Linked DNA regions of Homo sapiens: regions 1, 2 and 3 are each linked to region 4. Evidence: promoter capture Hi-C in 16 types of primary human blood cells and fetal thymus (Javierre and others, 2016). All regions are on one chromosome and are shown on one strand. The core of a region is centred on a gene start or on the middle of the fragment in contact, and the rest is flanking DNA. Distances in the headings are between cores, read along the strand shown. Region 1 overlaps CTNND1 (catenin delta 1). Region 2 overlaps ZDHHC5 (zDHHC palmitoyltransferase 5). Region 3 overlaps P2RX3 (purinergic receptor P2X 3). Region 4 holds the start of SMTNL1 (smoothelin like 1).

Region 1 (7,251 bases), core at 909-3,408, 250 kb after region 4:
CAATGGCGCAATCTCTGCTCACTGCAACCTCCACCTCCTGGGTTCAAGCGATTCTCCTGCCTCAGCCTCCCGGGTAGCTAGGATTACAGGCATCTGCCACCACGCCAGGCTAATTTTTGTATTTTCAGCAGAGACAGCGTTTCACCATGTTGACCAGGCTAGTCTCAAACTCCTGACCTGGTGATCCACCCGCCTCAGCCTCCCAAAGTGCTGGGATTACAGGCGTGAGCAACCGCACCTGGCCGAGAAGCTGCTATTTTAAAAAAGGAATGTGAGCTCAAACAGTTGGGTGACCCCTAGTAAACTCTAAGGTTAAGCTTTTCCATGAATATTTTTTTTTTCCGAGTCTAGGGTATGGAAGGATATAAGGTGTCTTAGTTAATTTTAGGATTTCTCTTTTATGACATGAGACCTAATCAATACCTTTGCATTTCAATGAGGCTTTTTCTTATTTTTCATAGTGTACCTGATCTCTCTCCTCTTGTAGGAAGGAGAAAGGCATTTGGCCTCTCCCCTTCCTTTAGTCTAACACCTTCCTCTGTTTTTTTGCCCCTCCCTCTTATCTTTGTTTCCTTATCGGCCTCTCCCTAAAGCCCTGCTTTCTCCTTTTAAGGCTAGGTGAGGTGTCTTTGGCAAGGTTGCACAGGGATCCAGGTAAGTAACTCAGTCTCTTCTCAGGATTAGAGAAAACTCAGTGTGAACTGTCCCAGTGGAGGGCCTTGGAGAGGCACATGGATAATGGGGGAGGAGAAGGAGGCGGCCTGGCCTGAGAGATCAGGACTTGTTAGACCAGTCCTGTGTGTGCGTCATGCATGCTCCACAGAGAAGCAGGTTTTTTTCTTTCTGTACCCTTTCAGTCCTGGGCCCCCTCACTAGCTGAGAGCCACACCCTTCCTTGGCTTCAAAGCCAGCCCAGCACTAAGCCATTTTAGTATGTTATGGTTTAGAGGGGGTTCTCAGAATACTTGGGAGGGGAAAAGAGAGAAAAAGAAGAATGTTTTATTTGGTCTCAGAATTTAGGAGGTCATGATGGTGGAGGTGATTTTTTTTTTTTTAAGTTGCAGTAAAAACTTTAAATATTGACAGGTAGCTTTGGGTAAGGATTATAAGACTAAAGGGAGTTTAAGGTACCCTGTTGATGTATAGAGGTTGCCAGCTCAAATTCCTTTTAACAAGGAGTATTATCTTGTTTATATCTTTGTTTTTTAAAAAATTCTTTTCTCTGACGTTCCAATCAGAGAGAATGTATCACTCTTTCCTAAGAGGAGGGTGGTCTGCCCAGAGCCTTCCTTAATTCATCAGAGAGATTCCTGGTGGACACCTAGTTTTTCCTCATGAAAATAAGACTTCTTTGGTCAGCCTTTTACCCTCTTTTAAAATAAAATCCTTAACTAAATTAAATTTAACAGTGTTTAATTGAACAAAGAACAGTTCACTAATTGGGGAGCCTTCTGAGCCACAGTAGGCTCAGAGACTCCAGTGCAGACGTGGTAGAAGATTTATGGACAGAAAAAGGAAAGTGATGAACAAAAAATGGAAGTGAGGTACAGAAACAGCTGGATTGGTTATGGCTCAGCTGGAACAGTTGGCCCCCTTTGAGTGGCCAAAACTCAGTGATTGGCACAAGAGTAGGTTACAGTCTATTTCTACCACCATTTAGGTTATAGTTCATTATGTACAGATAAATCTTTAGGCCAAACTTAAAAGATGTAAGGAGGCATAAACTTGCCTAGGCTAAACTTGATTTAACACTTCTAAATGGAGAAGTTGGGCCTAGCAGGAAGCAGATCCATGAGGAAGCATAGAAAGAGTGAACACTAGGAGAAGGCCATATCCAGAATAATACAGGTTTTGTGACTTGAGTAGTGCTCAGTTGAGATTGTGAAGTGAGCACAGTCCTTTTAATCTTAACGCAAATCAGCTTCAGGGACTTGGAATTAACAGAAGATGAGTCTTCCCAGTGAAGTGAGAAATACTAGAACTGTTCTGACTGAGCATGAAGGTGGAACATGGTTGGGCATGGTGGCTCACGCCTGTAATCCCAGCACTTTGGGAGGCCAAGGCTGGTGGGTCACTTGAGGTCGGGAGTTCAAGACCAGCCTGGCCAACGTGGTGAAACCGTGTCTCTACTAAAAATACAAAAATTAGCCAGGCATAGTGGCACATGCCTATAGTCCCAGCTACTTGGGAGGCTGAAGCAGGAGAATTGCTTGAACCTGGGAGGTGGAGGTTGCAGTGAGCCGAGATGACGGCATTGCATCTGGGCGACAGAGCAAGACTCCATCTCAAAAACAAACAAACAAACAAAAAAAAACGTGGAACATCAAGTGGAGGTAGGGCGGGGTACTTAGACTTTGGACTCTGGTATAAGCACTGATAAGAAGCCATAGAAAGGCCGGGCTCACGCCTGTAATCCCAGCACTTTGGAAGGCCGCGGCGGGTGGATCACGAGGTCAGGAGATCGAGACCATCCTGGCTAACACGGTGAAACCCCGTCTCTACTAAAAATACAAAAAATTAGCCGGGCGTGTTGGCGGGCGCCTGTGGTCCCAGCTACTGGGGAGGCTGAGGCAGGAGAATGCTGTGAACCCGGGAGGCGGAGCTTGCAGTGAGCCGAGATCGCGCCACTGCACTCCATCCTGGGTGACAGAGCGAGACTCCATCTCAAAATAAAAAAAAAGCCATAGAAAATCTTGACAAAATATATTTCTTTGATTTAGAAACAAAATGGCAAGTTTGTTTGTGGTTGAACCGGAATATTTCTTCAAATTTGGGGTCAGGTGCCAGTTAAGGCAAATAAATGCCTTTTAGGTATCTGAAGGGCCCCTTTCTGGCTTGAATGTTATGTAATACAGTTCTGTAGTGTTACAGGTGCTATATTTTGTTGATTAGTATTCTGCAGTAGGAGGCTTGGTATGCTATTTATTTATTTATTTACGTATTTATTTTTGAGACAGGGTCTTACTCTGTCGCCCAGGTGGCAATGTAGTGATTGTGGCTCACTGTGGTCTGGACCTCCTAGACTCAAGCAATTCTCCCACCTCAGCCTCCTGAGTAGCTGGGACTACAGTGTGCACCACCATGCCCAGTTAATTTTTGTAATTTTTTTGTAGAGGTGGGGTTTTGCCATGTTGCCCAGGCTGATCTTTAAACTCCTGGGCTCAAGTGATCTGCCCACCTTGGCCTCCCAAAGTGCTGGGATTACAGGTGTGAGCCACTTTGCCCAGCCCAGTGTGCTTTTGAAAAAAGCCCTTTGCATTCCCTAGAATGGCTGGGCACAGTGGCTCATGCCAGTAATCCCTGCACTTTGGGAGGCCAAGGCAAGAGGATTGCTTGAGCCCACGAGGTCCATGCTGTAGTGAGCTGTGATCACACCACTGCACTCTAGCCAGGGCGACAAGAGCTAGATCCTGTCTCAAAAAAAAAAAAAAAAAATTCCCTAGAACGACATGGAAATGGAGTTTTGCCTGTCATTGTTTTTAGATGGAGAGCATAAATTTGTGACACTCGTTTTGTTGTTGTTGTTTTTGAGACAGAGTCTTACTCTGTCATCCAGGCTGGAGTGCAGTGGCACAATCTCGGCACACTGAAACTTTTGTCTCTTGAGTTCAAGTGATTCTCCTGCCTCAGCCTCCTGAATAGCTGGGATTACAGGTGTGTGCCAACATGCCCGGCTAATTTTTTTGTATTTTAAGTAGAGATGGGGTTTCACCATGTTGACCAGGCTGGTTTCGAACTCCTGAACTCAAGTGATCCTCCCATCTCAGCCTCCTAAAGTGCTGTGATTACAGGCATGAGCCGTGGTGCCCGGCCATGACATTGGTTTTGATTTTATAATGAATAAATAGGAAGAAAGGAGGAGAGCTGCCTTTGAGACTGGCTCTGAAGACAAAATTATTTTTGCAAAAACCCAAAGATTGGTGAACTTCAGAGTTCACATAGGCTATGGTTTTATATATATTAGCTCATTAAAACTAAACCATGAAGAGTAATAGAAATGGAAGCTTACAGGGGTTATAACTTTTCCAAGGTCTCCTAGCTAGTTTTTGGAGGAGCCAAGACTTGGACCCCCAGTCTTTTGACCCCTAATCTGGAGTTTTATTTTGTTTTTCCCTCTAAAAGTGAATAATTCCTGTAGTTTTCAGGTCTGCTGCAAATGAAAGAGGGGAGCCTGGGGAGGCTGGTTTACAAACTTCAAAAACTCCACCAACCACACCCAAGCTCTAGTCCCTGTAGTAGTAACAATATTACTGGCTTTCTGTGCGTCAAGACATTTTTCTAAGCACTTTACATGAAATGCCTCATTTAATCTTCACAACCACCCTGTGTATTTTTATTCCTCCATTTTACAAAAAAGGAAGCTGCAGTTTCGAGTGGTTGATACTTTGCCCAAAGTCATATAGCTAATAAGGATAGATCTTATACTTAAACCCAGGCAGATAACAAAGCCTATACACTTAACCTCTTAAGAATCATAATTCCAAATTGTATTTCTTTAGTCAGTTTACAGTAGAAGAAATCATTCCAGGGACTGTGCTATTGGTAGGTGATTTTTTTGTGTGTGTGTGTGTGTGGGGTACTGAGTCTAGCTCTGTCACCCATGCTGGAGTGCAGCGGCATGATCTCGGCTCACTGCAACCTCCGCCTCCCGGGTTCAAGTGATTCTCCTGCCTCAGCCTCCTGAGTAGCTGGGATTACAGGTGTGCACCACCAAGCCTGGCTAATTTTTTATTTTTAGTAGAGACGGGGTTTCACCATGTTGGTCAGGCCGGTCTCAAACCCCTGACCTTGTGATCCGCTCACCTCGGCCTCCCAAAGTGCTGGGATTACAGGCTTGAGCCACCACGCCCGGCCGGTAAGTGATTTTTTTGTTTTTTGGACCTCCTATCTGGTTAGCACTGTCTAGTTGTTTGGTCCTTCTGGGTATTTGATTTAATTTAACTTCTTTTGGTTGGGAGTTCTTACAGACGAGACTGAGTTTTTATCATTATCATTGCTTGGATGAAGGATCTTTACTATGGACTATGGACTCTGGGTAATAGCAGGAATATCTTTCTAGTGTGGGTGGGATCCAGTAATGTAGGACTTAATGGCTTATTGAGAGTAAAACTAGGTATTCTCAGAAAATCTAGTCTTAAGGGGGAATAACAAGTTTCACTTTATGTTTCCTCAACCCCCTGACTTCAGGAATTCTTTGATTTTTTTTTTTTTTTTTTGGTGAGAGGAAATGTAGTCTATTTAAAAATCTAAGTAAGTGGAGGCCGGCTGCCGTGGCTCACGCCTGTAATCCCAGCACTATGGGAGGCTGAGGCAGGCGGATCATGAGGTCAGGAGATCGAGACCATCCTGGCTGACACGGTGAAACCCCGTCTCCACTAAAAATACAAAAAATTAGCCCGGTGTGGTGTCATGCACCTGTAATCCCAGCTATTCGGGAGGCTGAGGCAGGAGAATCGCCTGAACCCAGGAGGTGGAGGTTGCAGTGAGCTGAGATTGCACCACAGCACTCCAGCCTGGGCCACTAAGCGAGACTCCATCTCAAAAAAATAAATAAATAAAAAATGTAAGTGGCAAAGCTGGAAAGGCATTGGGCTGGACTTGTAATTACGACTCCTGACTGTCTGCCAAAGTCAGCTGAAGGTTTGTAGTGTGATCTTTTTGATGCATATGGCATGAGAAGAATCTTTTTTCCTTAAGTCTCCAAGCGATGAGACCATTTACTGTAGCCTGCCTAACAGCTTCATTCTTTCCCCACTCATACATTCCTTTTCCTCCCATTTTTTTTCTGTTTTCTCACTTCTATGTAGATATTATGGGTAACTCTTGAGCCTAAAAAAACAAAGTAGAACCCTTTTCTTTCCCTGTTTTCCTGTGATAGTTGAGAAGAAAGCTCTCAAAGGTTGTAGAGGAGAGGCTCTGGACCATCCATCTGGTACTGACTGCACTTCTATTTGGACTTGACACCATGGCATAGAAAGAGAACACAGGCTTTGGAATGGCATAGACCTGGGTTTAAATTCAAAATTTGCTATTAACTGTGAGACCTTGGGTAGTTTCTTCACCCATGAGTCTTATTTGCAATAAAACTTCCTTAGGGTTGTTGTAAGGATTGCCAAGATAGTAAATGTAAAACATTCAGTAATCATTAGTTTCACATTCCCTTTCTCCAAGGTAATAAATTGTTAAGGCCTCAAATACAGAATCAAGAACTTATTATGACAGATGTGTAATGATGTGATGACTTCCAGGCACTAGAGAAGTGTCCTTTGTCCCAGAAACACTGGTATAGGTGGGACGTTCTAGTAAATAGATTAGGAGTAGGGAAACCAGCCCATTCACTCCTTAGAACCTAGTTATGTTTTTGATCCAGTTGATTTCATCTACTAGTTCACAAAATAGTTTGAGGCTGAGACATTACGGTGAAGTAATGTAATTGGAAGTGTTAAACCAACTTTTGAAACAACTTAATACCTGACATTTGTATATAACATACATTGTCTCACCTAATCCTCACAACAACTCTGAGTTAGACCGGGCTAATTTCCTAACTCCTGGGAAGCAGCAATTTTTTTTCTTTTTCCCCAATTTGGTTCCTGGAAACGGGGCAAATGGATTTGGCATCTTACAAGTGAGAATATGACAGGGTTTACTGCCATTGTTGGGTAGTAGTAGAGCCAGAACTGGGACCAGTCTTCTTGAGTTGTGTTCTATCCCATATGGCCTCTGCTTCTGTCCTTTTTCAGGCAGAATATCTCCCCATGCTTTTAGACCTAGGAATCTGATCTTTTTGTGTAATTGTGCTGTCTTCTTTTCCAAATTAGAGCCAGGTGGTCAGCTTTAAAGCTGTGAAGATGGTGGAAGCTAATGTTTCTCCAGATACTGCTTTCTGACCTAGAGCCCTGAGTATTTTTCCTATCTCCCTTCCTAACCTTCTTCACTGAATTTAAGTTGCAGGGCCATTTATGGCCATCTATACACTTTCTCTTTGCAGCAGGGAATGTCACTGTATCCCCCGTGGTAGCAGTAATTTGGGCTTTTATTAGCAAAGAAGATTATAGGGTGGATGCTGCTGGAGTGGTAATTGCACTTCAGACCCTGTTGAAATTCAGTAACTGGAAGAATCTCTTTTTGAGCTCAGAGTCCTCTTGGTGTGGAAGGTTCATAGGTCATTGTACATAGTGGATAAGGGCAAGTACTTAAGAAATGGAGATGAAAGGGGAGCACCTTTTTTTTTAAAATAAGGGTGCTTAT
Region 2 (7,656 bases), core at 1,933-4,432, 160 kb after region 4:
GCTGTCCCCCGTTTTGGCAAGCCAGATGGGCTAAGGGGCCGGGGAGTAGGGTCCCCTGAACCAGGCCCAACAGCCCCATACCTGGGCCGATCGATGTCTTACAGCAGCCAAAAAGCCCAACCTGGTGTCTCTGAGACAGAAGAAGTGGCCTTGCAGCCATTACTGACACCCAAGTAAGTATTAGTACTATCCTGACCCTTAGCCAATTTCAAATTAGCATACTGCTCTGCAAAAGCTATCAGGGCTTCTGTTGTACATCCTAATGTAGGTGGACCCAGGGGTATCCTGGTAGCTCTTTATTTTCACTTTGACTCTACCTGCCTTCATGGGCAATTCCTGTTAAGAGACTGAAGATTAATACTTTTTCCATAATGCTATCTTCCTAAAAGTATTTGCTTGGGAGTAAGTACATGTGATAGCTGTTACTAGAGAGTAGTAGTACATAGGAGAGATTGGGAATCAGGCTTATTTTAAGCAGGGCAATAAAGGGGAATGTTTGGGTAAGAAAGTATGGATATAGAAAAGAACATCATTTTTTTCTCTGAACCTTTGAAACTGTCTCCCTTTCCAATGTTTTCTGTCCCATTTCCTGACACCTACGTCTTGTCTCTTCTTTCCAGAGATGAAGTACAGCTGAAGACCACCTACAGCAAATCCAACGGGCAGCCCAAGAGCTTAGGCTCAGCCTCCCCTGGCCCAGGCCAGCCACCTCTCAGTAGCCCCACGAGGGGAGGAGTCAAGAAGGTGTCAGGGGTTGGTGGTACCACCTATGAGATTTCGGTGTGAGCCTTCGGCACCTCCCCTCCCCAACGCCTCTGCGCCTACACCAAAGGGCCCCAGGTGGCCACCTTCCTTCCCTCAAGGGGCTCCCCTCCCGTGCATGGACATTTTTTAAACCACCGATTCCAAGAGGATGAGGAGTGTTTTCTAAAATGCAGTAGGCTTGGGGAGTCGGAGAGTTGGGGCCCTGAGACTGGGGTAGCAACCCCCCCTTTTATCTTTTAAGACCTTCCCTTCCTTGATCCCTGGACCAGACTCAGTGGACATTTGTGCAATTGCTCGCCCTGGAGGGAACCAGATCATTTTTAAACCAGAAATAATTTTTTTTATTATTGTTACGGATTCTATTTTTTTCCTCTTCTGCGTTACCAGGTGTGTGTGTACATATAATATATATATATATATATTATAAATATCAAAGAAATTATATATCTATCCTGGGATGGGAAAATGAGGGAGGGATACATATACGGAGGGGGATCTTACTCTTCCCATTCCTCAGACCAGCAGGAAAAGAGGGGAGACGTCAGTCTTTTTCCTGTGGTTCCCTCTCATTTGTCCCAGTTACTAACTACGGAAATAGCATCCTCTGCTGGTGCTAAGTGTGATTAGGAAGAAGCCTGGGGAGAGGTGAGTCTGGAATTTTGGTCACAAGAGGGAAGGACTTGGAGAGGAGAATTAGTTTTCTAGGCTCATTGGCATTTAGTTTCCCTAGGAAAGGGGTCAAAACTTCAAGACACTGGTGGTGGTGGGAGATCAGGAAAATAACTTGGCCTAGCTCAAACAATATTGGATAATCCCCTCCTTGGGGGAGAGGGATTAGAGTGTGCTCCTACTGGCCCCTTGGAGCCTCCCCTAGCTTACACAGTTAACTTGATTTTAAAATCCAAGGCCAGGAGAGAAGAATCCAAAAAGCAATATTTTTCATCACATGCCAAAAACGGGGGATAGAGAGAAGGAGTGGCAGGCCTAGGCCCCTCCGATTGTCCCTTGGGGGTTACCCCTCAGCCCACCTCACTATGGTGCTGGGTAGAGGGGATACCTGGGTTCTAACCTCTAAATAGGGGAGATCCCAGCCTCCACAAAGAGGCCCTTTTATTTTTTATTCTGATTAGCCATTTTAAACCAACGAGGAATAAAAAGAAATCCTGATCTAACCAGCGCCCCCTGACTTGTGTTATTTTGTCTGGTTGAGACAGGGTGAACGATCTCTGGTGGGAAGTTATCAGTGACAACCTCATAAACTTCTCTGGTCCCAGCCCATCTTTAGGCAAGACTATAATGAAATTAGCCACTTAACAACTAAAAAAATAAAAAAGAGACCCAGTGCGGTGGCTTATACCTGTAATCCCAGCACTGAGGGAGGCTGAGGCAAGAGGATCACTTGAGCCCAGGAGTTCCAGACCAACCTGGGCAACATAGAGACTCCATTTCTAAAAACAACAGGTCCTGTTTTTATTTGGGTGATTTAATTCAAAAATTCCTGAAAAAAGGTCTCTTGAAATCACCAAAACTGCTTGTTATTTGAAAGCTTAGAGAACTCTTAAAAGTTGTTTCTTTCAAGAGACAGGGCCTCATTCTGGTTGCCCAGGCTGGAGGGCAGTGGCACAATCAGATCACTATATCCTCAAATTCCTGGGCTCAAGGGATCTTCCCACCTCAGCCTTCTGTGAAGCTAGGACTTACAGTTGCATGCCACCATGCTTAGCTAATTTTTTTTTTTTTGGTAGAGATAGACTCTCAACCAATTTTGCCCAGACTGATCTCGAACTTCTGGCCTTGAGCAATCCTGCCTTGGCCTCCCAAAGCATTGGGATTACAGGCATGAGCCACCATGCCCAGCTACAGTTGTTTTTTAATACAGGATTTAGTCTCTGGAAAGTAAAGCTAATTTTGGAAACAGCCAAAGGTGACATAGTAACAGGTATGAAAGCCTGTTGAAGGCAGGTTAACTAGATATCGGTGTCAGTTCAATTAGATATATTGCATTTTATTGGACAAAAGCTGTGCTCTAATTTTAAATAGGTATCCTTAGACACTAAATCTCAAGCAGTTGACCAGAGCCCTTTAATTACTCAAAATTTAAGAATATAAGCTCTTAGCCGGGCGTGGTGGCTCACGCCTGTAGTCCCAGCACTTTGGGAGGCCGAAGCGGGCTGATCACAATGTCAGGAGATCGAGACCATCCTGGCTAACACAGTGAAACCCCATCTCTACTAAAAATAACAAAAAACTAGCCTGGCGTGGTGCGGGCGCCTGTAGTCCCAGCTACTTGGGAGGCTGAGGCAGGAGAACGGCGTGAACCTGGGAGGCGGAGCTTGCAGTGAGCCGAGATCACGCCACTGCACTCCAGCCTGGGTGACAGAGCAAGACTCCGTCTCAGGAAAAAAAAAAAAAAAAAAAAAAAAAAAAATATATATATATATATATACTCTTATTTGGGTGCAGTAGCTCACACCTGTAATCCCAGCACCTTGGGAGGCTAAGGCAGGTGGATCACCTGAGGTCAGGAGTTCAAGACCAGCTTGGCCAAAATGGTGAAACCCCGTCTGTACTAAAAATGCAAAAATTAGCTGGGCGTTGGTTATGGGTGCCTGTAATCCTGGCTATTTGGGAAGCTGAGGTGGGAGAATCACCTGAACCCAGGAGGTGCAGGTTGCAGTGAGCTGAGATTGCACTACTACACTCCAACATGGGCGACAGAGCAAGACTCTTTCTCCAAAATTTAAAAAAAAAAAAAAAAAAAAAATATATATATATATATACAAAAATTAGCCAGGTGTGGTGACGCACACTTGTAGTCCCAGCTACTTGGGAGGCTGAGGTACAAGAATCACTTGAACCCAGGAGGCAGAGGTTGCCGTGAGCCGAGATCATGCCACTGCACTCCTGGGCAACAGAGCAAGACTCTGTCTCAAAAAAAAAAAAAAAAAAAAAAAAACCCAGCAAACTCTTATTCTGAAATCCTGGATTTAAACCAGCTGAATGAGTGGTTTTCCACCCACTGATTCAGGAACAACCTTGGCTTTCACGGCAACAGATTTTAACTGTGTTAAATTTAAAGTCAGATTACATTAATTCAGGTTTTCTCATGGATGTTTTCAGTTACCTAACCAGCTGGAAAAACTAAAAGTGTTTTTTGTTTTTGTTTTTCACATTTTGATGGTTTAGGCTACATTTTGTTGCTGTTTTAGAAATGTTTTCACATCAGCTAAATAACTTTATTGTCTTAACTAAGGACCGAAGCAGGTCAAAAGTTCTTGTAAAGAGAAGGGAAGCTTTACCTTTGCTTGCCAGAAGTTCATCTCAAAAGATCACAGGCTTCTGACCTAAAGAACCAATCTTGTTGAAACACATGGGTGACTGTCCATGTGTTTTCAGTTGGCTATTCTCTTTCGACACAAAATTGACCTAGAATACACTGTTGAGCCCTACCTGGATCAGCTCTTCAGATGGAGCCTGAGATCACCGAGGCGCTTGGTTCTCAACATAATGGGCAGAGTGTTACGTGTCTGCTGTGGAGTATTAGTAAGCTTGGGTCACTTTTCATTTTGGTTGGTTCCCTGCCTGCTAGTGAGATCATGTAATGACAAGACCCAAATCCCCTCAAGTCTTAGGAATGCCTTGTCTTAAATCCTGATTCACAGAAAGGCACATACCTCTTAACAGGCAGTCACACTTCAGCCAGTTTGATAAATGTAATTTTTTTTTTTTTAAAGAAAACACAGAACAAGTCCTAAATCAGACAAATTGCACAAAAGAGAGAGAAGAAAATTGTAAGCTTCCTGGGAGAGGAAGAGATGTCCATGAGAAAACCAACTGGGATGAGCCTACAAAAGCATGTCCCTCTCTCTCCTAATTTACTTAGTCTCAACTGAGCCCAACAGGAGCTGGCCTCTGTCCCAGCTGCAGGATGCTCCCAAGGCAGTGTCCAAGAGCCTGGAAGGCAGCTTTTATCAGCAGGTTCAGTACAGCAGGAAAAGCCATCCTGGCAAAGAGTCCAGTGGTCCTATTAGCGTAGGCTGCTGCTGCTGCTGGCCTGGGAGCTGCCCATACCTGGGTGGTCTGGACTATGTCGATTCTGGGGGAGAAAGAAGCAGGGTAAGAACAACTAGGAACTAGCCTTGGCTTTGATCAGGCTGTACAGGAGAAACCTGCAACCTGCCTTGGGTTTTCAATCTTGGGTCCAACTTGAGGCAAAGAACTCTAGGGTATTTAGGACAGGGGTGAGATCTGGGGAAACTCACTGGGTTGTGGCAATAGGCCTCTACTCTACCTTCTTTTTCTTCTTCTCTTTCTTCTTCCTTTTCCGTTCAGGATCCTCTTCTTTTTTCTTTTTCTTCTTCTTGTGATCTGAATCAGATGGTGTTTCTGTAGGAGACATTAGGTACCTATCACCTGTAAAGCTCAAAATCCTCTACTGTTATGAACCACTGAAGACTACAGGAAAATCCCAAGTCGGGGCAACTGCTTTTGTCCAAATGGCCAGAAAGGATACAGAGGTGCTGCTAGAGTCCCTGTCCCAAGTCCCAAGAGACCACAGTACATTGGTTTCTTCTTCAGGGGAATTTAGGAGTCCAGAGCTCCATACGGAACTTAACTGGGTTTACCTATGGAAGTTCAAACCAGATTCAGAAGGTCAGGTTTTTTTTTTTTTTTTTTTTTTTTTGCTTTGAATAGAACTGCTTCTTACCTGGGGGGACAGGATCCTGGGTACGGCTCTGTTTGTGCTTGTGCTTATTCTTCTTCTTGGGAGGCTGAATATGCATCAGACGACACTGCTCCGGCAACTGAAGGAACCAAAGGAAGGTCCAGGTGAGTAGAGGGAGGAAATCTCTCCTGCTCTTATCATCCATTCTGCTCCATTATGAAGGAACAGACTTGGAGAGAAAAACCATCTCCATGTTTAGGCCTCCCCATTTGCCTTCTTCCTCCAACAGGACTCACCGGGCCAGTGTGGAGGCGGAAGCCGGCCAGCATGGTCCCTGTGATAGGATTGAAAGAGCTACTGAGAATAGGGGGCTTCTCAATGAGAGAGCGGAGGCTGCTGTTATCATGGGAACCAGGCAGATCAATCATCCCTGGCAGGTCAGGCAGGAAGTTACTTAGCTTCTCCTTCACCTTCTTCCCACAGAATTTATTATAGGCTTGTTCCAAGTTGTAGTGTGTGATCAGATTCGTGCTGCCTGTCAGCTCTGTGCTACCTAGACAACGCAGAATAAAAATAAAAAAGATCAGTCTTCAAAGTAGACCCAGGGAGTGAAGGACTATATATTAACCTAAATAAGACATTTTTTAAGTGCAGATTTTAAAATTTAAAATTTATTTTTAAAGAAACAGAGCAGGCCGGATGCAGTGGCTCATGCCTGTAATCCCAGAACTTTGGGAGGCTGAGGCGGGTGGATCACCAGGTCAGGAGATCGAGACCATCCTGGCTAACAACACGGTGAAACTCCGTCTCTAGTAAAAATACAAAAAATTAGCCAGGCGTGGTAGCACGTGCCTGTAGTCCCAACTACTCAGGAGGCTGGGGCAGGACAATCACTTGAACCCGGGAGGTGGAGGTTGCAGTGAGCTGAGATTGCGCCACTGCACTCCAGCCTGGACAACAGCGAGACTCTGTCTCAAAAAAAAAAAAAAAAACAGCAAAAGTAAATAACATGAAAAGTATAATACAACACAATGGTAGGTTCCAATGGGAAGGGGAAAAACAGGCAAAAATCCAATAGGGCAGAGACAGGAACTGCTCTAGCCCAATGAAGGAGACACTCCACTCTCTTAAGATTAACTGGAGTTGATTTATATGATGCTTGCTTCGTGGTAAATGCTGTTCTGAGTGTTTCTCATAAAATGTATTAGTGAAAAATTATATTCTCTGACACAGCTAGGAAAATACGACCTTGCAGCTCAGCTACAACCATGCTCAGGGGGCCAAATATGACCCAGTGACTTAAGGGTCTTGTCAAGGACTTTTTTTTTTTTTTACTAGCAAGAAACACTAATCACCTTTACATAAGAAAAGAACTGGGAGATTTTTTTCTAGCTACCACTGCCTAACTTGTTACCAACATCTTTATTCTTCCTCGTGATACTGAGTATGATGCCTTGCCTAAAAGGAATAAATGTTTTTTGTTTTTGAGACGGGAGTTTTGCTCTGTCGCCTAGGCTGGAGTGCAGTGGGGTACGATCTTGGCTCACTGCAACCTCCGCCTCCTAGGTTCAAGTGATTCTCCCACCTCAGCCTCCCAAGTAGCTGGGATCACAGGCACACACCACCATGCCTGGCTAATTTTTTTCTAGTAGAGAAGGGGGTTCACCATGTTGAGTAGGCTGGTCTTGAACTTCTGACCTCAAGTGATCCGCCACCCCCCGCCGCCTCGGTTTTCCAAAGTGCCGGGATTACAGGTGTGAGCCACAGCACGCATCCAGGAAGAAATGTTTGATTAGAAGTCAGTCAACTAATGGCCAGGCGCGGTGGCTCACGCCTGTAATCCCAGCACTTCAGGAGGCCAAGGCGGGCAGCTCATTTGAGGTCAGGAGTTCAAGACCAGCCTGGCCAACATGGTGAAACCCTGTCTCTACTAAAAATACAAAAATTAGCTGGACAGTAGTGGCACACACCTGTAATCCCTGCGAGGCGGAGGTTGCAGTGAGCTGAGATCAGGCCACTGCACTCCAGTTTGGGTGAGAGAGTGAGACCCTGTCTCAAAAAAAACAAAACAAAACAAAACAACAAAAACAAAAAAACAAGTCAGGCAACTAGAATTATTCTGGCTGTCTTCCATGCCTCAGTTTCCTCTTATCTGTGGAATGGAATAATAGCTATCTTACATACACATAATTTTCTCCCAAGGTTCAAATGAAAATATGCTGAAA
Region 3 (6,822 bases), core at 395-2,894, 190 kb before region 4:
TTTTTTTTTTTTTTGAGACAGAGTCTCGATCTGTCTCCCAGGCTAGAGTGCATGGCGCGATTTCGGCTCACTGCAACCTCCGCCTCCCAGGTTCACGCCATTCTCCTGCCTCAGCTTCCGGAGTAGCTGGGACCAAGCCCGGCTAATTTTTGGTATTTTTAGTAGAGTCAGGGGTTCGCCGTGTTAGCCAGGATGGTCTCGATCTCCTGACCTCGTGATCCGCCCGCCTCGGCCTCCCAAAGTGCTGGGATTACAGGCGTGAATCACCGCACCCGGCCACCACAGCACTTCTTTACTGAGCAGTATATGACATGTCACTTTCCGTTCTCCCTGCCTCCGTCTCCCACCTGGAGGATGGGAGGAAATCATTTGTCACCACCTCCACCCCACCCCCACCCTGGCCCAGAGCAGGGAGTCAGAGGGCGAGGGGAAAGCTCATACCCGGCCCGTTTCTTCAGGGGGGAGTTCTGGGCATTAAGATCGGCTGGGTGTGCGACTTGGACAAGGCCTGGGACCAGTGCATCCCCAAATACTCCTTCACCCGGCTCGACAGCGTTTCTGAGAAAAGCAGCGTGTCCCCAGGCTACAACTTCAGGTAATTCCCTGTCTCCTGGGACACCAGGAGAAGAAGGTGCGGGCTGTTAACGGCAATGTTTATTGGGGAGACAAGATCCCACATCCATCCACCCACCCCTGGCCCCAAGTCCCACCTCAGGTTTCATTTCAAATCAGGAAGGACTCTCTAACAGCCATTAGGATCTAGCTGGTTGTCCTGGGAGACAGTGTCTCCTTATCACTGAAGGGGACCACGCCAAGGATTCCTGCTGCAGGTCAGTAGTTAGAAGAGAGGGCCAAGGTCTCTTGAAATGCTAGGGTTCTGCGATTCTTTGCCTGTTCCTAACACTGGCCTGAAACTGTGACGTGCTTAAGTGACTTCCAGATAGGCCCATTCCCTGCCCTGGGCCTGAATTTTCTAAGGTTTCTCGCTCTACAAAGTAAGGGTGATAACTGGTATCATTTTACATTTTACAAGATGGCAACTTTGCATTTCTCTCCGCAAACGTGTGTCACCAGTAGCAATTATAATTGTCTCTGGTTCTTCAATGCCTCTCCAAACAAGAACTCAGACCAGTCTTTAAATATCATCCCAATGGCTTTGAGACTTCAGGGATCTTTTCGGGTTTTGTTTTGTTTTGTTTTTCCATTTTGAAGAAAGGGAGAGAGGAATTAGAGGACAAACTGTTTGGAAGCAACTGAAAGCGCTTGAACAAGCCATTTGTCTTCTCCCATCCTAATTTCCCCACCTATGAAATTGTGATAGTACCACTGTGATCTTCAGGATTCAATTAACCAATGTGTGAAAAGCTTCAGCTTTCTGTTTTGTTTCTCTCTTCTTTTTTTTCTGAATCATTCATTTATTGATTCATCCATTAAACACATACCAATTGTCTACTACGTGCTGAGGACCGTACTCAGTTATCTTAGGTTAGCAGTTCTCAAAGTGTAGACTACAAGGTCAACACTACTTATTAAAGGTTTTGTTTTCTTTTTAATTGATAAATAACAATTGCATATATATGGGATACAATGTGATGTTTTGATACATGTATACATTGTGGATTTCCCCCAGTTTTTGAAGATCCTGAAGTTTCTGGCAGGGCCCTGTTTAAGTACACAGCATTATACACTAAACAGCTTAAATAGAACAAATAGGGAGTGACCAGGGGAAAAAAATACATAAGAATATATTTCATTTACATTTGAACATAAGAATGTATATTTGAATATATTCAAATAAATGTTACTCAAATTTCCTTTGTTGAGGTGGTATTCTCTGATACAATGGCATACGTAAGCCAAAAATAATCATTTCACCTTTTAAAATTGTTAATTTATAACTTAAAAAAATAATCACCCACCCCATTAAGCTTTATATTTAATAGTTTAAAATATACATGTATATTCTCTGGAAAGAAGAATCTTTAAAAATTGAAGTACTTTCATCATCAACTCCAAACTTTAAAAAAACCATAGGAAACAACACATATTTTAAAGTAGGTTAAAAATACTGTGCGGCTCACTGGCAGAAATTGGCATATTTATTCAGTTGGTATATCACACTGAGATCAATACAAAGGATATTTGTATGGTGGCTTAAAATAGTAACATATTAATAAAATTCTCATGATCTAAAATGCAAGTTTTCATCTTCATAACTTCCCTTTGGCCATTGGGAATTCTTTAATCCTCCAAATAACTCATTTGGCAGAAAAGCTTATGAAGAATGTGAATATTATAAAGACCCCCAACTACTGATATCGTACAGTTTTAGAACAGCATCTCTCATCTAAATAAGAATTGGTCTGGAGTTCTTTATCTCCAATTTATTGCACTGTGGCTGCCTTCCCTCCCTCCCCACCTGAGCACAGAAGGATGCGGGATAGACCTGGTCCTAAATAAGCTTGGAGGGTATTTGGGGAGGCAGGACGGAATATCCCCAAAGACCCTGCCTGCATAATTCCCAGAGGCCTAAGAGAAACCACCCCCTCTTAGGATCTCAGATAATTGACTCCCCCAACAAAGTCCCCCAGGCCAGAGAAGAAGGAGGCAAAGCTGCTTAGTTTGACCCTTGTGATTTAAAAGTTTCCAGAGGGCCCAAGTAATAGCCCTGACATTGGGGGACATCTGATATCAGTGGCAAGCAGAGGGCTCTGCCCAAGCCCCTTCCCATCCCTTCACCTGGGTGCCCACCCACCACCCTCATGCAACCTCAAACTACTGGCACCCAAGGCTAAGCTAAGAGCCCACGTGTGGGAGGCTGCAAAGCTGTCTTTCTGAATGCTTGAATAAGAGAGAAAGGGTCACAAAGCCAGGTTCAGTGCGGGTCACAGTGCACTTTCTATGATATGGTAAGATGTACGCTGTTTTTTAGAATCTCACCAAGCTACTTATCAGTAGAAACCATACTAGTCACCCTGTGTGCAAAACGTTTTGTGTGCTTCAGCTCAGCATTCCTTGCATGCCCTACGAAGTAGATGCTACAATATCCCCCCCAACTTTATAAAGGAGAAGATGGAGTCTCACTGTTAAATAACATTCTCAAAGTCACAAAGCAAGCAAGAGGGGGAGCCTGGATTCAAAACATATTTCTTTGGATGATCTCCACCCCAGCCAGGAAGACTAGGGACATTTGTACTTGTTAATCCTCAGAAAAAAAAGCATGCCTATGTGGTTGACACTTTCATCCCAGCTTAAAAACAAAGAATCTAAGTTCCAAGGAGATTTCAAGACTAGCAGATGCTGGCAGCACAATTCATAGCCCGGCCTTTTGTCTCCCAAACAATTCATTTGCTGCTCCCTCCAACAGAGGCAGATTTTTCAACACCCCTACTGTTGCCATTTGCTCTGGAGGGAATGGAATTATTCAGCCAAGATTCGGCCGTGTTTGAATCTGCTAACTAAGACATCCAGAGGCAGCTAGAGATTCACATTTCCATCACTAATTACATTCGCAGCTCCCTTCCAAATGTCACTCCCCCCCCCCCGCCCCTATTTTTTGTAGCTCTTTGCCTGCAGAATCAGAGATTTTGAGAATTTATAGCTGTTGAAGTTCCCCTTGCAGTCACCCAGAGTAAGGCGGTCACTTTACAGATGAGGAAGCGGAAGTTCCAAAGGGGGCATCTTAGAGTAGCCTCAAAGGTCATTGGATCTCAACTCCTAATGTGACCCTTGTGATTTAAAGGAGTTTACGGACCCATGTAAGAGATTACAGGCCCATGTAATCACCCTGACACTGGGGGATATCTGATCTCCGTGGCAAGCAAAGTGGCCTGCTCCATTCATTGGAAAGGTGACCTCAAATTGAGCCAAAATGTGCCTCCCTTTAAATCCTCTCCAGTGTACTTGGTGCTGTCCATGCAAGTTAATCTTTATTTTTGTGATCCCCTAAAGATTCTGTTCTTCCCCTACCTGAAATTTAGTGGAGACATTTTATTTTTACTCCTTGGTCTGTTCTGCGTGGCTAAAGACTCCGTGGGCCGCTTTAACTTAGTATTTTTATGAAGCCTCTTTCTAAGCACACTGAGATTGCAGTTGGTGGGGTCATCTGGATTTCTAGCAGACAAAATGCAGCAATTTCTAAAAATAAGAACTGTTGAGAGTCACCAGTTCAGTGCTGCACAAGTGAAAGGCGCCCTCAGCAGAGCCCTGCAGTTCTTCAGGAGGCTCTCTTCTCTGTTGGCAAGGTTTCTGAGGCCCAGGTAGACCCTCAATTCACAGGAGCAGGATTTTAACAAGAGTACTATATTTCCCAAAGTCCTGGGAACAGGTGATGTTGTGTGTGTGTGTGAGTGTGTGTGCACATGCGAGTTCGTGAGAGTGGGTGTATTTGTTAGTGGGTGAATGTGTGAGGCTGAGAGTGAGTGTGTCAGTGTGTGTGTGTGTGCGTGAGTGTATAGGCATTGATGGTGCAATGACAGATTAAAAATACTGTATCCGTCAGGGTCCCCGCAGGAAACAGATGGCACATTCTAACTGGGTAATCTGAGGAGAGTTTAATAAAGGGACTGTTTCAAAGGTGTGGGCAGGGTGTACGGAAACCACACAGATAGTGCAGTGCCAGGGCCAGAAACAGGACACTGGTTACCACCCAGGTCTGAAGAGGCGAGGAGAGGAAGCAGTGACAGGAACATGGAGACGGACAGAGCTGTGAGCAGAGGACAGCCTGACATGTGGCTGTGACTCAGGAGAGCCCCACCAGAAGCCAGAGCTGAGGCAAAGTGGCCCACTGAGGCAGCCCAGGGCAGGGCGAGGAAGGGAGGAGCACGGACCTGAGGGGCACCTGCAGAGATGTCCAGGACAAGTCCTGACAACTTTCATCTGTGAAATTACAGCCCTTCCTTAACTTTCAGAGGTCTCTAACTGCTTTATGCCCCCGATGAAAATGGGGACCATTGTCCAAGGAAGATGCATGTATTCATAGACATGAGAAAATTCACAGGCAAGTTCTCTTCTTAAAGGATATTTTATTTCTTTTTTTTTTTTTTTTTTTTTGAGACAGAGTTTTGCTCTGTTGCCCAGGCTGGAATGCAGTAGTGCAGTAGTCTCGGCTCACTGCAACCTCTACCTCCCGGGTTGATGCAATTCCCCTGCCTCAGCCTCCCCAGTAGCTGGGATTACAGGTGCCCGCCACCACGCCCAGCTAATTTTTGTATTTTTAGTAGAGACGGGATTTCAACATGTTGGCCAGGCTGGTCTCGAACTCCTAACTTCAAGTAATCCACCCACCTTGGTCTCCCAAAGTGCTGGGATTATACGCGTGAGCTACCACGCCTAGCCAGGTTATTTCATTTCTACAAATAAGATACAAATACATTCTCAGAGTAATAAATCCAACCAATACTGATATATACAAAGTAATGACATGGGAAGTCCCCTTCATTCCCCCAGGCCTGCACCCTTTGCAGGGAATTAACATCTGGGACGGTTTAATGAGTTTCTTTCCAGTTCTTATTCTATGCATTTATATTTATGCAGCATAAAATTCCAAGACTTTGAGGCCCTCTAAAAGCCTATCCCGTAGCCAGGTGTGGAAGCTCCTGCCTGTAATCCCAGCACTTTGGGAGGCTGAGGCGGGAGGATCCCTTGAAGCCAGGAGTTTGAGACCAGCCTGGGCAGCAATAGCAAGACTCCTTCTCTACAAAAATAAGATTAAAAATTCTAAAAAATAAATAATAAATGAAAGCCTATCCCTGCACCTCAGATTAAGAGCCCTAGAGTTAAGTTTGCAAAGCCCTTTCACACCTATTTTTGACAGATCACAGCTCACCATCTTCCCCCACCCCCAAGGTAGGCTCAGAAAGATTTCAAAACTTGCCTGAGATTATACAGCCTAATTAAGAGGCACATCAGGACTCAAACCCAGGGATTTGATCTATATCCATTGCTTCCAGCATGCCTTGCGCCATCACATGGCCTGCAAAAAAGGGGAAAAAAAAATAGCTCTAAGAGATATACCTGGTAGTGATGGCTGGTGTGATTGACGGGAGAGAATCGAAACTGCATTTCAAAATGCCTGATTTCTTGTTTCTCCTCTGAGAGTTCCTAAGACAGCTTTGCTACTAAAAGGCAACGCAGTTTTGGATTTCCTCTTTTGGTGTCTGGGACAAAAAAACATTTGTTCAGCTGCTAGATGTTCCTGGTGCGGTAGGTGTTTCTAGTGATCGTTTTATGTTGGAAATGTACCCACAGCAGCTTTCATGAAGCTCGGAGATTTGGCGCCTGTCCTGCTTCCAGGCAGAAACGTGTGGATCAGCAAGATCTTAGGCCAATTGACAGAGACAGAATCGAAGTGCACCCTTGGCTTTGATCATTCTCTCTACAATCTGGATTTTTCTCTTTCCAAAAGCCATAGAATATGCGTTAAAAGCAGCCAGCACCGTCATTTCCACAGAAACACTTGAAGGCCCTCTTCCATGGGAAGTGTACTTGCTTGAATTCTCCATAATCCATTTTCTTCATCATTTTTAGGTTTCAGTGGAAGTGATGCAATTAGAGTGATCTTGGATTTAGATAGCCCTTTATCATGTTCATGTCTACCCTATTCTCACAGCAACCAGTATTATTCATAGAAAATATTAGCTAACACTCATTGAACACTTACCAGTGAGCCAGAGAATTAGCAGGTTCTCTGTGTGATTATCTTGTTGACCCTGAAGAGAGAACATTTTAGAGCCAGGTGTGGTGGCTCACACCTGTAATAATCCCAGCACTTTGGGAGGCCAAGGCGGGCAGATCACGAGTTCAGGAGTTCAAGACTGTCCT
Region 4 (7,376 bases), core at 1,813-4,312:
CAGGCGCAAGCCACCATGCCTGAGTGGTTTTTAAAATTTTTTGTAGAGATAGGGTCTTGCTATGTTGTCCAGGCTGGTTTCAAACTCCTGGCCTCAAGCGATCCTCCTGCCTCAGCCTCCCAAAGCACTGGCATTACAGGCATGAGTCACTGCACTGGGCCCTGCTTAACAAAAAAAATTTTTTTAAACGGAGTCTCGCTCTGTCACCAGACTGGAGGATAGTGGCACGATCTCCGCTCACTACAGCCTCTGCCTCCCAGGTTCAAGGGATTCTCCTGACTCAGCCTCCCAAGTAGCTGGGACTACAGGCGCATGCCACCACACCCAGCTAATTTTTGTGTTTTTAGTAGAGATGGGGTTTCACCATGTTGGCCAGGATGGTCTCAGTCTCCTGACCTCATGATCCACCTGCCTTGGCCTCCCAAAGTGCTTTATACACCGCGCCCGGCCAACAAATTTTTAAGTGCACAAAATAGTATTGTTAACTATATGTACCATATTGTACACAGATTTCTAGAACTTATTCATCTTGCATAACTGAAATTGTATACCCATTGAACAGCAACTCTCCATCTCCCCAGCTGCTCAGCCTCTGGAAAACCATTGCTCTTATTGATGATGATGCTATTGTTATTATGATTATTTACTATGAGACTGTGTCTTTCCTCTATGTGGAGACCTACAGGTAGGAATCTCCAATGGTCCCAGTTGAATTGCTTCTTGTAGAAGACAGTTTAGATAGCCTCAGACTTTGAAGATATCCTTAGACTCCAGATATGTCATCCAAAGCTACTGATCTCTGTCAACACCATGCTGAAACTCTGGCTCCTCATTCTACCCTGCATTCTACCCCTTCCCAACCTTGCAAAGGTGAGTTGTATATTTGTCATTCATCGTGGGTCAGTATTGTCCTCTTGGGTGGGACCCCAGCCCCAGAAGAAGAGATGCAGAGTTTTCATCTAGAATCACTTCAAGTGGGCCCTGACCACTCATGAGAGGTGCAGAGAATACAAAAACAGAGGTTTCCTGTAACCTCCCTTGTGATGAAATGGCTTACGTCATTCTATTCACTTGAAGAAAAAGCTGGCCCTGGCTTAATCACTGTCTGCACTATTACTGTTTCCCATCACTTCTTCTTACCTCCATGGCTGATACTGTGGTCCAAGCCACCACCATCCTGCACCAGGGTCACTGAGTTTGTCTCCTGACTGCTCTCCCCACTTCTATCCATGCTTCTTCACTTTATTCTCAAAACAGCATCCATCCAGAGTATATCTGCCCAAGATTGGCGAGTTTTTCCACATCTCTCTCTGGCTTGCTGGTTTTTTGTTTAAATTCATTTCTCTTATCCTACTGTCATTAGATATTGAAAAGAGCAAAATACTCTGGGCATGGTGGCTCATGCCTATAATCCCAGCCGGGTTTCAAGTATTACTAGAGCCGGCTGGCAACCATTAATATTGGACTATTTCATGACTAGTACCCAAACCTAGATGCACAGAAAGATCTCTCTTTCAGATCATCCCGGGCAAGACCTCCAAGTTCCTGTCATATTTCTGTTAATTAATTAGTTATTTCATTCAGTATGTATTTATCAAGTACCTAATATGAGCCAGGCAATTCTGCTGGGATCTAGGCATACAGCCATGAGTATGGTAGATAAAATCCCTGCCCTCATGGAGCTTAAAGCCTAGTGAGAGAGTCAGATAATAAGGAAATGAATAAGGTAATTTTAGATTTAGTATTATGAGGACAATAAAAACTGCTGAAATGAGGGAGAGGAATTGAAGGTCATGGAAAACCTCTCTGAGGGAATGAAATTTCAGCTAAGTCCAGAAGAATGAGAGGGAGGCAGTCTTACAAAGAGTAGAAGGAAAAACCAGTCCTGAGTCTGAAAAGGGATGGATTTATTTAAGGAATAGGAAGGAGGCCAGTGTGGCCCAGTGGTGGGGCTTGGGGTAGGAGGACTGGGGGGGATCCCAAGCTTCGTGGGAGTGTCCTCTGCACCCATTCTCCAAAAGTAGTGCCTTTCTTAGATTGTAAAACACACAGAGAAAGTGAAGACTTTTTTTTGAGATGGAGTCTCTGTCACCCAAGCTGGAGTGCAGTGACTTGCTGCAACCTCTGCCTCCCAGGTTCAAGCAGTTCTCGTGCCTCAGCCTCCCAAGTAGCTGAGATTACAGGCATGCGCCACCAAGCCCGGCCAATTTTTGTATTTGTAGTAGAGACAGGGTTTCACCCTGTTGACCATGCTGTTCTTGAACTCCTGGCTTCAAGCAATCCACCCGCCTCGGCTGCCCAAAGTGCTGGGATTACAGGCATGAGCCACCATGCCCAGGCTTGTTTTGTTTTTTTCTTAGCAAAATGTCAGTTCAGTATAAAAATGTGTTCAGAGCCTACTGTGTACCTGTCACTTCAGCTCAAAATAGAACTCAGGAGTTTTGTATTTTCCAGGCTCCGTCCAGTGATCCGTCAGCTTGTCCCATCACTTTTGCCCTCTCTGCCCCTCCCCCTCCAAATCTCTCAGTCAACTGTGAGCCCCAAGACACATCCCCTGTGTTGGCAGCTGCCCTACTCGCCCCCTCCTTAGCCCAGCCTTAAGCAGCTGCTTTTGTCTGAGGACGAGGGAAAGGGGCTATGTAAGGAACGTGGCGGGGTGGGTGTGAAGGGAGCACAAGAGGCCTCGCCTGGGCTCTGGATGAGCAGTGGAGGCCAGGGCCATGCTCTAAATGAGTCCTGAAGATGGTTGTCAAGGTCCCTAGGGTTAGGAGAGTCCACTGGGGAGAAAGATGACCACAGGACGGATGCTGCCAGGCTCAGGGCGGAAGGGACGTGCCGTGATTGAAAGGTGCCACCTGTCAGATCTTCCACGGGAAATCCGAGCCTCCCAGTCTAGGGTAAAGTGTTGTACCAACAGGCCAGTAAACAATGCTCTTCAGGCAGCCCAAGACTCTTGAAGTGGGGGTGGGGTGGAAGAGGGAGAGGAAGGGGGGAGGCGGGACCAAAGAGCTGGGGGCTAGAGGCCACTGGGGCTTAAAGGCAGCCTGGGAGTGAGGCCACTCAGCTGGAGCAAAGAGACAGCTCCCAAGCCACAGGCAGAAGCCCCACAGGTAGGAGAAGCCCTGGCACCCTTTCTAAGGGTCCCTCCCCATCTGCCAATTCTCACTCCCACTGTCCAAGGGCCAGAGCCTCCCAGGAGGGCCCCCCATTTGGAGAAATCCAGGCTCCTTTCTAATTCTCTCCACCACAATGTCTACTCTCTTTAGATGCCTGGGGTCTCAGCCCTGCACCAGAGCACCTACAGAGCAGACTGCAAGTGGCCATCCACGAGGAGGCCACAGAGCAGGGGAGGGGACCTTGGGAGTCTCAAGAGTCAAACTGGGTTGGGGGGTAGACTGTCTAAGCCAAGCCTGTCCAGCCCACAGGCTACCTGTGGCCCAGGATGGCTTTGAATGTAGCCCAACATGAATTCATAAACTTTCTTAAAACATTATGAGATTTTTTTTTTTTTTGCAATTTTTGTTTTAGCTCATCCACTATCGTTAGTGTTAACGTATTTTACATGTGGCCCAAGACACTTCTACTTCTACCAGTGTGGCTCAAGGAAGCCAAAAGATTGGATACCCCTAGTCTAAGCAATTGAGGTCGGCCTCTCCAAGGGAGGGCCCCTGGCTGAGTGGGGAAGGTGGAAGCCTTAGGACAACCAGATGACAGATGAGGCTGCAGTGGGTGGCAGACGCACCACAGAACATCCAGTGTTTATACTACTGGGAGTTTGGATCTTGGGCTCCTGGGTCCCTTTCCTCCTGGTCTGCCAGAAGAAACAGGAAGAGAGAGGGAGGGGAGATATCTGCAGTGCTGCTTTGGACACAAAACAGGGATGGTTTGGAGACTTCCTGGGGAAGGAAGGAGGAAGGAAAGGAGAGAATAAGAAAGGAAGGTGGGGGCAGAGAAACTTTCATGAAGGGCCTACTGTGCACCTAGAAGAAAGAGGGAGGAACTCCTCGGCTGAATCTGACTGCCCTTCCCAACTGGTGGGGTGCCCCCACTCTGGGCCAGGGCCTTTGTAGGGACACTGGGCTGCGGAGCTAGTGGGAGCATATATTTGATGTGAGCTCTGGAGTGGAAGTTGGGATACTTGGATTCTAGATAGAGAGCCAGGCCACTTGTCCTATAACTTTAGTCAAGGGACTTCAACTCCCTGAGCCTGAAATCCCCATTGGCTCCCTAATGGGGCCAATAACCTATTCTGAAGGGTCGGAGCAAGAAATGACCAAGAGAAAGCAGGGCCTCCGCAGCATAAGCTGTAAACTGCTGTAGGGCTGTGAATGCTGGGGGTGGGTGGTGGCGTCCTGGTTTCTCAGCATTCTGAGCATCTTCACTCCTTTTCTATTTGTGACAAGCCTGGAGGGTGGAAAGCTGAGGTGATAAACACGCAGGATAGCCGAGGTGTGTGTCCGTGTGCGTGCACCTACCCTTCCCCTCCACCACCCTAAGTATGCAGCGTGTAGGCAGAAGGAAAGATGGTTAGAGCGGCCAGTCTCAGTGGCTCATACCTATAAACTCAGCACTTTAGGAGGCCGAGGCAGGAGGTTCACTTGAGGCCAAGAGTTTGAGACCAGCCTGGGAAACATAGCGAGACCCCATCTCTATAAAAAAAATAAAAAACAAAAAATTAGCCAGGTGTGATGGTGCACATCTGTGGTCACAGCTCCTCAGGAGGCTGAGGTGGGAAGATCCGTTGAGTCCAGGAGGTAGAGGTCACAGTGAGCTATGATTGAGCCACTGCACTCCAGCCTGGGCAACAGAGTAAGACCCTGTCTCTTAAAAATAAAAGATGACTGGAGCACTCAGCTATGTCTTAGCCAAATAGTGTCATACTTTGAGGTATAAAAAGGGCTTGTTATCATCCTACTGGCATTCAGTTCTCTCTGCCTTGACTCACTGATAAATGCCCTCAAGGCTGGGTCAGGACCTTGCCCTGGCACAGGGCTGGGCACAGCCAACCCACATCATACGAGCTGATGGGTGCTGAGTACTCATTCATGCCAAGCATGCCTCTGAATCCTGTTTTGTTTTGTTTTTTTAAGAGCTGAGGTCTCACTTTGTTGCCCAGGCTGGAGTGTAGTGGCTATTCATAGGCATCATTATAGTGCACTGCTTGACCTCCTGGCCTCAGGTGATCCTCCTGCCTCAGCCTCTTGAGTGGCTGGGACCACAGGCATGTGCCGCCACGTCTGGCTCCAGATATTTTCTAAGCATGGGCTTTCTTAATCCTCCACCATCCCTATGGGATGGGACCTATTGTTGTCTGCAGAAATCAAAACACAGAGAGGATGGATAGCTTGCTCAAGGTTAACACAATTAGTAACCCATGGGAGCTGAGATCCCATCACAGGAAGACACCAGAATCAATGATTTTCACTGCTAGTCCATGTCACCTTCCAAACAAGAGCAGAGAGAAAGAGGGGAAGGGATTGTGTTAGACCAGCATTTGCCATGCTTTCTTCTGCTGCTAGAGAGAGTGGTAGATGCTCCTCAGGGAAAATCAAAGCAAAAAGAAAAGAAAACAAAGGGAGGAAAAAAAAAAGTCATGGTCAAATAGGTTTGGAAAAAAGTGAGTTAAATGAAGTTTAAGCAAGGTTTAGGTTTCTTGACTATCTGGTTTCTAAAATCTATTTAAATGCTAATGAAGTTATATATCTGTTTTTGTTTTGTTTTGTTTTGTTTAATTTTATTTTCCTTACTATAGAGACAGAATTTAATATGTTGCCTAGGCTGGTCTTGAACTCTTGGGCCGAAGTAATCCTCCCACCTAGGCTTCCCAAAATGCTAAGATTATAGGCATGAGCCACTGCGCCTGGCTGAAACTGTATATCTCTAAGAGGGTAAAGAGTAGGCTTTTTTGTGGAGCAACCTTAGCCAGAGAATATCCTTTCTCCCAACCCCACAGAAAACCCTATCCATGTCACGGGAGACCCTAGTTTTCCACAGAACACAATGTGGAGAACCTGATCCAGATGAACCCCATCATTGTCAGTTGAAACTGAGGCCCAGAGAGGGAAAACTACTTGCTCAGGTCTCAGTGGGGACTGGAAGATGCAGGTCACAGCCAGCTCCACAACTTCACACCTCCCGGCATCTCTGCTGATGTGCGTCCATCCCCCTGGCTCATCTTCCCTCTTTTTTTTTTTTTGAGACGGAGTCTCGCTTTGTTGCCCAGGCTGGAGTGCAGTGACGCGATCTCGGCTCACTGCAACCTCCACCTCCCGGGTTCAAGCAATTCTCCTGCCTCAGCCTCCCAAGTAGCTGGGATTACAGGCGTCTGCCACCACACCCAGCTAATTTTTGTATTTGTAGTAGAGATGGGGTTTCACCATATTGGCCAGGCTGGTCTTGAACTCCTGACCTTGTGATCTGCCCGCTACGGGCTCCCAAAGTGCTGGGATTACAGGTGTGATCCACCATGCCCGGCGTCATCTTCCCTCTTACTTTAAGACATTGCTGGAGCCGCTGAACCAGGAAGGGGCTCTAGCAGGAATCAGAGGACAGTGTGAGCATCTTTACAAATCCCAGCCTACTTTTAGGAAATAGTGAGGGCATCGAATTCAGGAACCCCAGGACTCTGGGTAAGACCCCAGTGGGTGGTGGGAAAAAAGCCCTATCCCTGTCTTCTTGCCTCCTGTCCTCTGCCCAATTACCCAGGTGCCCTCGGTACTATCACTGAGAAAGATGGTACTGCCAAGGGCAGGGGGTATTTTTAGTGTGTGACAGGAGTGTCCACTTTTCTTACTGCCTGAGTCATGCCCTGAGCCCTATTTGGGGATTGTTTTCTTTGTAACTACACCCCCCAAAAAGGGCAGGAGCATGAAGGAGCTAACCCGGGGCCCCCACACACCTGTTTTTGTAGATCCTCCAGTATATACAGTACTTAAATAGGAAACTCCGAGTTAAGATGTCATAATCTACCCCCATGCTCCCGGGGGCAGTTGGAGAGTCAGATTGCTCAGCAGAGGCCAGGGAGAGTACGGCTCCATTCTTCACTCAAGGAAACGCTTCCTTGCCCAGGCCCACCTTTTCCAAAAACCACAGGCTGGTAGAGCTGGCAAAGCTCCAGAGACCAGTTGGCCCTGGGGTTCCCAAATTTCAGCCATTTTTATACACCACCTCTATAATTTTGCTACATCTGCACTGCCTATATTCCAGTTTCCTGAATTACTTCCTTTGAATCAACTTATTTTTAAGTTCAGTAAATGTATTTTTAAAAGACACTGTATCACTGTTGGAAATGGAAACTCAGTATCACTTACCAGAGATAGAAAGTAACTGTAAAAATAAATACAATGGAAACAAAATGGTGTTATTCAATTCTATCT

The links. Contacts are between HindIII fragments. The CHiCAGO score rates a contact against its expected background, and 5 or more counts as called.
Region 1: a contact is called between a fragment that was not itself captured here and the fragment with the promoter of SMTNL1 in region 4, in 3 of 17 cell types (activated CD4 T cells, naive CD8 T cells and neutrophils). The highest score is 7.4, in activated CD4 T cells.
Region 2: a fragment that was not itself captured here is called in contact with the fragment with the promoter of SMTNL1 in region 4 in 2 of 17 cell types (neutrophils and M0 macrophages); the score reaches 6.7 in neutrophils.
Region 3: a fragment that was not itself captured here is called in contact with the fragment with the promoter of SMTNL1 in region 4 in 3 of 17 cell types (M0 macrophages, activated CD4 T cells and naive CD4 T cells); the score reaches 8.8 in M0 macrophages.

What each region holds. Positions count from the first base shown.
Region 1 is chr11:57,780,993-57,788,243 of GRCh38, forward strand. The region is part of intron 1 of CTNND1 (catenin delta 1); the gene reads left to right. All of the region lies in intron 2 of TMX2-CTNND1 (TMX2-CTNND1 readthrough (NMD candidate)), which reads left to right. Among named protein-coding and RNA genes, the nearest start is that of CTNND1, 23 kb to the left of the region's middle. RefSeq lists an enhancer at 3,264-3,764. The HindIII fragment of the contact is 3,687 bases long and covers 316-4,002 here.
Region 2 is chr11:57,699,246-57,706,901 of GRCh38, forward strand. It overlaps ZDHHC5 (zDHHC palmitoyltransferase 5), which reads left to right. Exons shown (of 12, transcript NM_015457.3): 11 at 1-173; 12 at 621-1,937. The coding sequence ends at 786. It overlaps MED19 (mediator complex subunit 19), which reads right to left. Exons shown (of 5, transcript NM_001317078.4): 2 at 5,728-5,984; 3 at 5,474-5,570; 4 at 5,057-5,151; 5 at 4,465-4,861. The coding sequence ends at 4,793. Among named protein-coding and RNA genes, the nearest start is that of MED19, 9.1 kb to the right of the region's middle. RefSeq lists an enhancer at 4,890-6,089. The HindIII fragment of the contact is 1,747 bases long and covers 2,310-4,056 here.
Region 3 is chr11:57,350,304-57,357,125 of GRCh38, forward strand. P2RX3 (purinergic receptor P2X 3) reads left to right here. Exons shown (of 12, transcript NM_002559.5): 8 at 459-595. Among named protein-coding and RNA genes, the nearest start is that of P2RX3, 15 kb to the left of the region's middle. RefSeq lists an enhancer at 1-25. The HindIII fragment of the contact is 563 bases long and covers 1,364-1,926 here.
Region 4 is chr11:57,534,533-57,541,908 of GRCh38, forward strand. It overlaps SMTNL1 (smoothelin like 1), which reads left to right and starts at 3,063. Exons shown (of 8, transcript NM_001105565.3): 1 at 3,063-3,110. The HindIII fragment of the contact is 14,036 bases long and covers 1,983-7,376 here.